2 separate regions of the Homo sapiens genome follow, and region 2 is linked to region 1. The links are contacts of gene promoters, found by promoter capture Hi-C in human tissues and cell types (Jung and others, 2019). All regions are on one chromosome and are shown on one strand. Each heading gives the region's core, a stretch centred on a gene start or on the middle of the fragment in contact. The rest is flanking DNA. Distances are from core to core; before and after follow the strand shown. Region 1 holds the start of NCR2 (natural cytotoxicity triggering receptor 2). Region 2 overlaps FRS3 (fibroblast growth factor receptor substrate 3).

Region 1 (4,619 bases), core at 703-3,202:
GGAAAGTTACCAAGTAAGAAAAGTGCTCATTTGTCACATTATAATCCTTAAAAACGGAAAGACAGGGTGTTTGTTTGAAGGGTGCATATTGGCATTTAATATGGAGAACTGCAATTTCCCTTCTAGCTTTGTACTTAGTTTTAACTGAGGAATGACAAAACGTTATGGGTATACCGTTAAGCCACTACATCAATCACCTTTAGGCACACTTTCAAATGAACAATGTATACAGTTTTTATAAATTTTTCCCTATGTGATATTTGTTCTGATTGTATTCATTAAAATGTAATTTTATGTTTGTCAAATTTAATAAATGTTGGGCTTGTACTTTATATATCTTTTTCTTATTTTTCTAGTAATTTTTTTTTACTGTATTTTACAAAAAAAATTACTCATGTGAATTGCAGATTTTTTTTTAGAAGGTCCTCTTCCACAGGAACTGTGGGTAGCTCTGCTCTGAGCAGGAGTTTGGCACACTTTCTGTAAAGGGTCAGGGATGAGCCATGTGGTCTCTGTCACAGCTGCTCAATTTTGCTGTCACAGCATGAAAAGGGCCACAGACAATAGGTAATTGAGTGGGCATGGCTGTGTTCCAAAAAATAACTCCACTTATAGGCACTGAAATTTGAATTTCCTGTATGTCACAAAATATTGTTTTTCTTTTGATTTTTTTTCACTCATTCTTAGTTTTTTTCACTCATTCTTAGTCCCCGATCTGGACTATGAGGGATACCCATAGTATCTTGGTATCTAGACTACCCAGATACCACTGGCTCTACATGGTGGGGGCAGCCAGTGGATGCACCTTTCCTGGGCACCTACTATGTACCAAAGATGCCGGGTGGTCCTGCCCTCCTGTAGCAGGGTCATATAGGCTGACTGGTCAGCATGCTCACCGGGTCTGTTTCAGCATCTCTCAGGAGGCCCAGGCTGCAGGCTTGGGAGTCATGCAGACTGTGAGATGGCTGCTCTTGTGCACATATGAGTTCCCCCTGCACCTGTTCCCAACAGCCTTCCCAGGAGACTGGGGCGTGGGCATGGGTGGCTTCCACGATTGGGAAACCAGGGGTGATGGAGGCACCAAAAGGGGGTGAGGGGCACCCCTCTGAGGACCCTAGGGAAAGAGCTCACCTGGAGATACCACCAGATAGAATCTGACGGACTTAGAGACAGAGTTGTCAGAAGGGCGGTAGATTCTACACCAGTAATGTCCTGAGTCTTCCTCTCTCAGATCAGTCATGGTGACAGTGAAGAAGCCAGCATCAGGGTCGTCCCAGATTGTGAATCGAGAGGTCCAAGCCATCGTCCTGGGCTTGGAGCTGGTGACTAACCTGATGCACACAAGTGCTGAAGCCTCCTTACACCAGCCTTTCTTCTCGTAGAGACTGCCCGTGGGCGGGTACTGGCATCTCACGGTTAGCGTCTGCCCTGCCACACTTTGAAGTACCTGAGCCTTGGATTGTGCCTGAGAGCCTGGAGAATGATGAAGTAACGCATAGGTCAAGGCCACGCGCACAACCTGCCTCACAGCAGGCCTCTGGCCACAGAGCCACCTGCTCCCTGACCCTGCTGTCCTGACAGTCCCCACCACACCCATCTCCTCTGCTCCCTGGGCTCCTCCTCCCCCTCACCTGGGAACAGCAGCAGCAGCAGTAGCAGTGGGTGTAGGGCTCGCCAGGCCATGTGGTCCTTTTCCTGTGCGCTCATGGGAGGGGACACCTGGAGAAGACTGGGGAGAGGGAATTGGGAGCTGGGCCTGATTCTGCTGCTCTTCCAGCACGTCTGATAGAAAAATGAGACAGGCTGAGGCCTGGGTTGGGGAGATGGGAGACTGCAAAGGGCAGATTCTGTGGGCACAGGGAAGTGGGGATCTCCAGCTGTAGGTGAGTCTGGGTCTGGTGGGCTCGGCGCTGTCTGGCACACAGCTTCCCAGGCCTCTGTAGAAGATGCCTGCTCTCCCCTGTGCCCAGCTGCCCCTCCCCACCATGACCTACCCCTGAGGGAGGAGCTGAAAAGGCCAGGAGGAAACTGTGGGCGAGTTATGGACTGCTTCCCCCTTGCTCCCTCTGTGTGCTGCCTCTCTTCTTTGCAGGGCCCTAGCTTTGCCGCCCTTTCCAGGGAAAGGCAGGCTGAGGGTGGATGACAAACTCAGGGGCACTTGGAACCCTGATCACAAGCCCCAAGCCTCACTGGTCACAGGATGGCCAGGGACGTCATGCCCAGGCCTCCATGGTGGGTCAGTGATGTGCTTCCACTCTGGGAGTTTCGTGGGTGCGGGAAAGGAGAGGGGAGAGGAGGTGGAGATTCAAAACCAGCAAGGGAGGCTAGGGAGGGTCCCTGGCAAAGGTCGGGGAGGGGAGGGTGGGAAGAGCACACGGAGCATGGGATGCATCAGTGGGGTGGGGTAGAGGGAGCCCAGGAACCAGGACCTGGCCTCATCTCTGCATCCTGGACCTCTGCCACTTAAGGACCCTGGAGAAATATTGTTTAATTAAAACATAAACAGATGAAAGACTCTAGCATATTTTTCTTTAGTTAATGTCAGCACTTTGAAGATTCAGTTTTAAAATACGATGCAATTTACAAAGAGAACGAGCTAATATATCTTAGGACTGGTAGAGACACTGTGTGTAATTGCAGTTGCACCACTGGGGGCTCTGCTGGACTGGCGATCTGCTGCCGGGAGCTCTGTGAACAGAGGTAATAACTGAGACGGGAATTGGAACTTGTCAAGTGGACTCGATTCCAAGTCCACTGCTTTGCCTGCCCCTGGACTCCTGCTCTCCACTCCATCTCAGTACACTGCCCTTCTCCTTACAGTAGGAGTATGCAGAGACTGAGAATGGGAAAGGCAGAGGGGTATGCAAAAGGAGGACACAGTAGGGCTATCAGATGTTGGCGCCCAAGGGCCCAAGGTGGGAAAGCAGGCTGGAGCTCCAGAGCTAGAAGACAGCTCAGGGAGCGATGCCCGCCACTCACTCACACAAGCATTATTTACAAAGCATTCTCATGCACACTTTCTCAAGACCCTCAGCAGGTTCGCGAGGGAGACATTACTTCTCTTTTTCACAGATGTGAGAACTGAGGCCCAGATATGGTCAGCCACCTGCTCAGAGTCACACAGGACCAGAACAGGCCTCCTGACTTCGGTCTGGAGCCTTCCGGCTGGTCTGGTTGAAATGCGACCCACAGACATGACAGGAAACCAGGGGTGAGAAAGAGGCTCCCACTGAATTGCACACACAGGCGGAGGTGAGCTTTTAGGGGGTTTCCTCGCCGACAGTGGGGCCCAGCTTCTCCCTGAACATAATTACATACCAAATCAGGGTGGGGGCATCCTCCCGAGGGGGAGGAAGGCGGCCCTGTCCTCAGATGGCACCGAGGCACGTCACCGTGTGTGTGTGTGTGTGTGTGTGTGTGTGTGTGTGTGTGTCAGCAACTGTGTTCCCATGCTGACTTTCCCCTTCTCTGACCCCTGCTGACTCTAAGTGACAGCTCCTTCTTGTAGCTTACAAGAGCACCCCTTGCTATGTGCCACTAGCTGTGTGTCTCTTCAGCCTGCAGCCAGCTCTGTATCGTTCTCTGCTGTGTCAGAGTGTGTCGTCTCTCCCCAGGGGACAGGAGCTCTCAAAGCGGGGAATCTGCCCCTCTCTCTGTGTTGTGGCTTCCCCACCTGTGTGAGTGGGGTGGGCACCCTCCACATAGACTTGGGGCCTTGAGCACCCTAGGGGGAGGCCCCTGCTGGAACCATCTGCACGCTCAGCTTCCTCTGGCATCTGGGACCTGGGGGCAGGGAAGCCTGGGCTTAGGCAGCCCCTCATCCAGGCTGGGACTGGCCCTGCTCCCTGGGGACCCACAACAGCCCTTGTCACAAGTTGAATTTCTGCAGGAGGGACTGGGGCAGGTAGCTGTGGTGGGATCTGGGGCCCTTTCAGAAGTCTCTTGAAGAGCTAGGGATAGTGCCTCCCCCTTGGCACGATCAGAGCAGGGCACAGCAAAGTCCTGTCAAAGAGCCTGGGGTTCTGGGGGATTCTGGGTTCCCTGCCCACCCTCTGAGAAGGTCCCTCAGAGAACTTGGGAACCTCAGCAACCTCCTCTCCCAAACTCATTGTCACACACACTCACAGGAACCCAGAGAAGGAGCTGGGAGAGCTGGAGACTTCATGTACTTGCTTTTCTAGCAAGGCCCAGTCTAGCCTGCAACAGTGGCTCCGAGCCTGGGTAGGTCCATGGGAAGGGAGGGCTGGCCTCTGATGCAGAAATGGGGAAAGCAGGGAGCCGTAGAGGTCTGGAGGTGATCCCCAAAACGCAGCACAGGGCTAAGCTAGGCTGGGCAGGGGTGAAGGGGTAGCTGTAAATTTCCCCCATGATAGAACCAGAAGTAGCAGGGACAAAAGGGAATTTCTCTCAGTGCTGATTTCACAACTGAGGGAGATGAGGTCCAGAGAAGGCAAGTAGCCTTTCCACAGTCACTCAGCTATTTCAGGGCCAAACCAGGACTAGCACCCAGGCCTCCTCTCTCCTGACCTGGTGCTCCTCCTGGGCTCAGAGATTCTCCATGGGCACTTCCTTACTCTTCATCCAGGCTTGCCTTTTGCAGATCCAAGGAGTCTTCTCCC
Region 2 (4,619 bases), core at 832-3,331, 440 kb before region 1:
GGCATTCATCCTTAACACATTGTAACTTGAATTAACGTTTATCCAATGTGTGTCTGGCCCTGGATTGAGAATGTGAAGTCTTTGAGGGGGGGTCTGTATCACACAGTCTCTTGGACAGAGTAGGTGATCACAATGACGTGCTTCTGCCCAAGTTCCCCAGAGCAGGGTTTTTTGAAGCTGAAGTTGGTGACCTGCATATCCTGTATGTTTTTCCTAGGGCAGGCTGGCTGCTCTGACACCATGGGGAGCTGCTGCAGCTGCCTGAACAGAGACAGCGTTCCAGACAACCACCCCACCAAGTTCAAGGTACCCAGAGCCCTCTCCTCTCCTGTGTTCCCAACATGGCCTCTTGGGCTCAGACACAATTTAATGGAGTTGCCTCAGCTTCTCTAACAGCAAATCAAATGCCAGGCTGAGGTTGTGGGCTTATGGAGACTTCTTGAGCTCACACCCTCTCAAGTAGCCTGAGGAAAAGAGGCCCAGACCACTGCTGTTTTCATGGCTCTTGATACTACCAAGAATGAAGAAATGCCATAATGGTGCTTTTGGAACTGTTGTCAGTGTATTTTTATAACTTTATATATCCCCCCCCCTTTTTTTTTTAGAGAAAACAAAATTCTGTATTTGTGAGTTAATATACGTAAAGTATTTAAAATAGTGCTTAGTGGCCAGGCACGGTGGCTCACACCTGTAATACCAGCACTTTTGGAGGCCAAGGCAGGCGGATCACCTGAGGTCAGGAGCTCGAGACCAGCCTGGCCAACATGGCGAAACCCCGTCTCTACTAAAAATACAAAAATTAGCCAGGTATGGTGGCACACGCCTGTAATCCCAGCTACTTGGGAGGCTGAGGCAGGAGAATCACTTGAACCCGGGAGGTGGAGGTTGCAGTGGGCTGAGATTGCACCGCTGCACTTCAGCCTGGGTGACAGAGCGAGATGCCATCTCAAAAAATAAATAAATAAATAAATTAAATAGTGCTTAGCACACAGTAAGCACAACATCAGTGTTTGCTGTTTGCTGTGGGAAGCTGAGGGCAGACCCAAGTCGACCTGTGCTCTCCCCTGCCCACCTCTCTGTAGAGGGAGCCTCCTCCTTCCTCATTCTGGGGCATGTTGAAGCACATGTTTCTCCTGCCCACCAGAAGAGGGAGCCCTCAGTAAGGGCACACAGTTGGGGAGGTGGTAGAGGAGATGTGCATTGGTTCTGCCTTGGGCTTGACTTTCCTAGGTCAGGGTGTCCCAGTCTCAAGATTTTGAATTTACAATTGAACCCCTTCCCCATTAACATCTGGCCCTTGGATACTAAGGCATGGGCTGTCTAGGGTCGTCTAACATTTGTTATCTAACAAACCGACCTTGGAAGTCAGCTACCTACCTCTTCCCTCACTGTCCATATGACAAAACTCAGCACTAGAGAAGTAGGATTTGCCCAGAGAACTGCCGTGGGTCCATGGCACTGCTTCATGTAGTTATGTGGCATTCAGTAGAGTCTGTGATAGTCGGATGTGACCTTTGGTTCCCCACCTCTTGTCCTGCATCAGATTGTCTCCCAGTGGCTCAGGGACCCATGCAAACACTTGTTGGACTCACTCATTGACCCTTCTGTCTTCTCCCCTCCAGGTGACAAATGTGGATGATGAGGGGGTGGAGCTGGGCTCTGGGGTGATGGAGCTGACGCAGAGTGAGCTGGTGCTGCACCTGCATCGGCGTGAGGCCGTCCGCTGGCCTTATCTCTGCTTGCGGCGCTATGGCTACGACTCCAACCTCTTCTCCTTTGAGAGTGGCCGCCGATGTCAGACAGGCCAGGGTGAGTACCAGGCCCTGCTCCACCCTGGGATAGGGGCTTATGCAGTACTCCAGGGTTCCTAATGTATAGGTTAGCCCTCAAGAGGTTAGTGTTATCCCCATCACCTGTGGGCAGTAGAGTGTGATGTATTCTCCCTGCAGTCAGAGGTCAGGGGTGGTAGGTTATTCCATAAGGTCAAGGCTAGAGCCAGCCACAGCTCTCTGAAGAAGTGGCATGGTCTGAGTTTATCTCTTAGGATCCAGACTTAAGCTGTGCAAAAGGAATCCTGCATGGGATTGTGTTCAGTGCAGTTTGGGATTATGGCTGTGCAGAGGTGGAATGAACAAGCTTCTCTGATGAGGCTGCCAACAAAATAGTGAGCCTCCGAGGTCATGTTTGCTGGAGGAGACTTCCCTCCATGCATCTTACCTTTGGAATTCATGAGGCAGAGGCAGGGGCGCTGGGTGAGCAGGCAGAGCAGGCAGAGGCATCCTTGCTCCTAGTGATGTTTGATCTACACTTGGGTTCCCAGAGGGGCTACCCCTGGCCCCAACACGGGGTTCTCTACAACTCCAGTCTTTCCCAGTCTTTTCTACTTCTCGTCATATTTTGCCAGAGTAGTTATTTTTCTTCCCTGTTTCCTCCCCATCCTATTTGTGCAAACCATAGTTGTCCCATTCCCCAGGCTAATTGTGTCTTAGTTGTGGGTATATGCACAGGCACACCCCACGTAGCCTCCCCTAGGTCCCAGGTCCCCCTGTTACAGAGGAGTCCATGCTGGCCCAGTACCCCAAGGGCATCTTTGAGTCCCCTGATTGACAGACACTCAGCCCAGTCCTGCTGTTCCTGGGACCTTGAGTTGCAGTGTTGCAATTTGAAGGGCTGTGAGGCTGGCTGCATTGAGGAGCCTTGTGATTGCCTTGCCATGTTTGCCTTTAGCTAGTCTGCCCATGATTTCTTCCTTCCCGTGCCAGAGTTTAATCTATGAGGTTAGGGACCTATATACAGTAGGCATTTGCTTTCTGGCCACACACTGGGCTAATAAGTGAAGAAGCAGGGAACAGAGTAGACCCTCTTGTCATCAGCGATCTGAGGGCTGGTGCTCTGGATGGAGTTTTTTTTCCTAGGAAGCAGGGGGTGTTAGGCAGAGGAAGATGGGGGAAGCATGTGAGGTAGAGTGTTCGCTCACCTGGCTGGGCTCAGTGGCTCACACCTGTAATCCCAGAACTTTGGGAGGCTGAGGTGGGCGGATCACGAGGTCAGGAGATCGAGACCATCCTGGCTAACACGGTGAAACCCTGTCTCTACTAAAAATACAAAAAACTAGCTGGGCATGGTAGCGGGCACCTGTAGTCCCAGCTACTTGGGAGGCTGAGGCAGGAGAATGGCGTGAACCCGGGAGGCGGAGCTTGCAGTGAGCTGAGATCGCACCACTGCACTCCAGCCTGGGCAACAGGGTGAGACTCCGTCTCCGAAAAAATAAAAGAAGAATGTTCACTCATCTAATACTATCCTTTCCACCTTGGCTTTTGGTTTTGTTTTTTTTCTTTTCTTTTTTCTTTTTTTTTGAGACAGAGTCTCGCTCTGTCACCCAGGCTGAAGTGCAGTGGCACAATCTCGGCTCACTGCACCCTCCACCTCCGAGGTTCAAGCAATTCTCCTGCCTCAGCCTCCTGAGTAGTTGGGATTACAGGTGCTCACCACCACGCCTGGCTAATTTTTTGTATTTTTAGTAGAGACAGGGTTTCACCATGTTGGCCAGGCTGGTCTTGAACTCCTGACTTCAGGTGATCCACCCTCCTCGGCCTCCCAAAGTGCTGGGATTACAGGCGTGAGCCATCATGCCCGGCCTCCACTTTGGTTTTGATTCTCTTCTTGTGACCCCTGAACACACACATCCTTATGAAAATGATTTCGCTTCAGAGCAATATAGCTGGAGTGTTCAATGTGGTGTGGGCGTGCTGGGGCAGGGTACCTTGGACCCAGCCTTTCTAGTAGCTCTTGGATTCTAGAGCAGACCTAGAAAGAATGCTCAGGGCCAGGCGTGGTGGCTCACGCCTGTAATCCCAGCACTTTGGGAGGCCGCAGCAGGCCGATTACCTGAGGTCAGGAGTTTGAGACCAGCCTGACCAACATGGTGAAACCCCGTCTCAACTAAAAATACAAAAAATTAGCCAGGTGTAATGGCGGGCGCCTGTAATCCCAGCTACTTGGGAGGCTGAGGCAGGAGAATTGCTTGAACCTGGGAGGCAGAGGTTGCAGTGAGCTGAGATCGCACCATTGCACTCCAGCCTGGGCAACAAGAGCAAAACTCCATCTCAAAAAAGAAAAGAAAAAGAATGCTCAAGATGAGGAGAGGCTCTCCTGCCCCTACAGGCCTGGGACTGGAGTTGAGGGACATTTCCTGCACATTGTGCATCTGTTGAGCTCCTCTGGTCCTTCCCTATTGCCTAGGGTCATTTCTTCCTCTCCTTCTCCAGGAATATTTGCATTTAAGTGTTCCCGGGCTGAGGAAATCTTCAACCTCCTTCAGGATCTGATGCAGTGCAACAGCATCAATGTGATGGAAGAGCCTGTCATCATCACCCGCAATAGCCACCCCGCTGAGCTTGACCTCCCTCGAGCCCCCCAGCCACCCAATGGTGAGGAGACCCCAGTGTACACACACACACACACACACACACACACACACACGCCCAGGAAGCACAAATCTGAGGGACTAGTTAAGCTGGCTGGTTGGGAGAAGGCTGGGTGAGCCAACCTTCCAGGACAGTTGTCCATGATCAGAACCATTCTTGAGGATCGGTAAGTCCTGGGCTGGGCTAGGTGAC

Evidence for each region. The method cuts DNA at HindIII sites, captures the fragments that hold promoters and counts their contacts. A contact is called where the count stands out against the background at its distance.
Region 2: a contact is called between a fragment that was not itself captured here and the fragment with the promoter of NCR2 in region 1, in 1 of the 25 tissues and cell types used here (mesenchymal stem cells).

The regions. Positions count from the first base shown.
Region 1 is chr6:41,332,941-41,337,559 of GRCh38, reverse strand. NCR2 (natural cytotoxicity triggering receptor 2) reads right to left here and starts at 1,952. Exons shown (of 5, transcript NM_004828.4): 1 at 1,632-1,952; 2 at 1,132-1,473. The coding sequence starts at 1,683. RefSeq lists an enhancer at 3,205-3,334. The HindIII fragment of the contact is 17,500 bases long and covers 1-4,619 here.
Region 2 is chr6:41,772,609-41,777,227 of GRCh38, reverse strand. FRS3 (fibroblast growth factor receptor substrate 3) reads left to right here. Exons shown (of 7, transcript NM_006653.5): 3 at 218-306; 4 at 1,623-1,809; 5 at 4,269-4,430. The coding sequence starts at 241. Among named protein-coding and RNA genes, the nearest start is that of FRS3, 5.0 kb to the left of the region's middle. The HindIII fragment of the contact is 6,444 bases long and covers 1-4,619 here.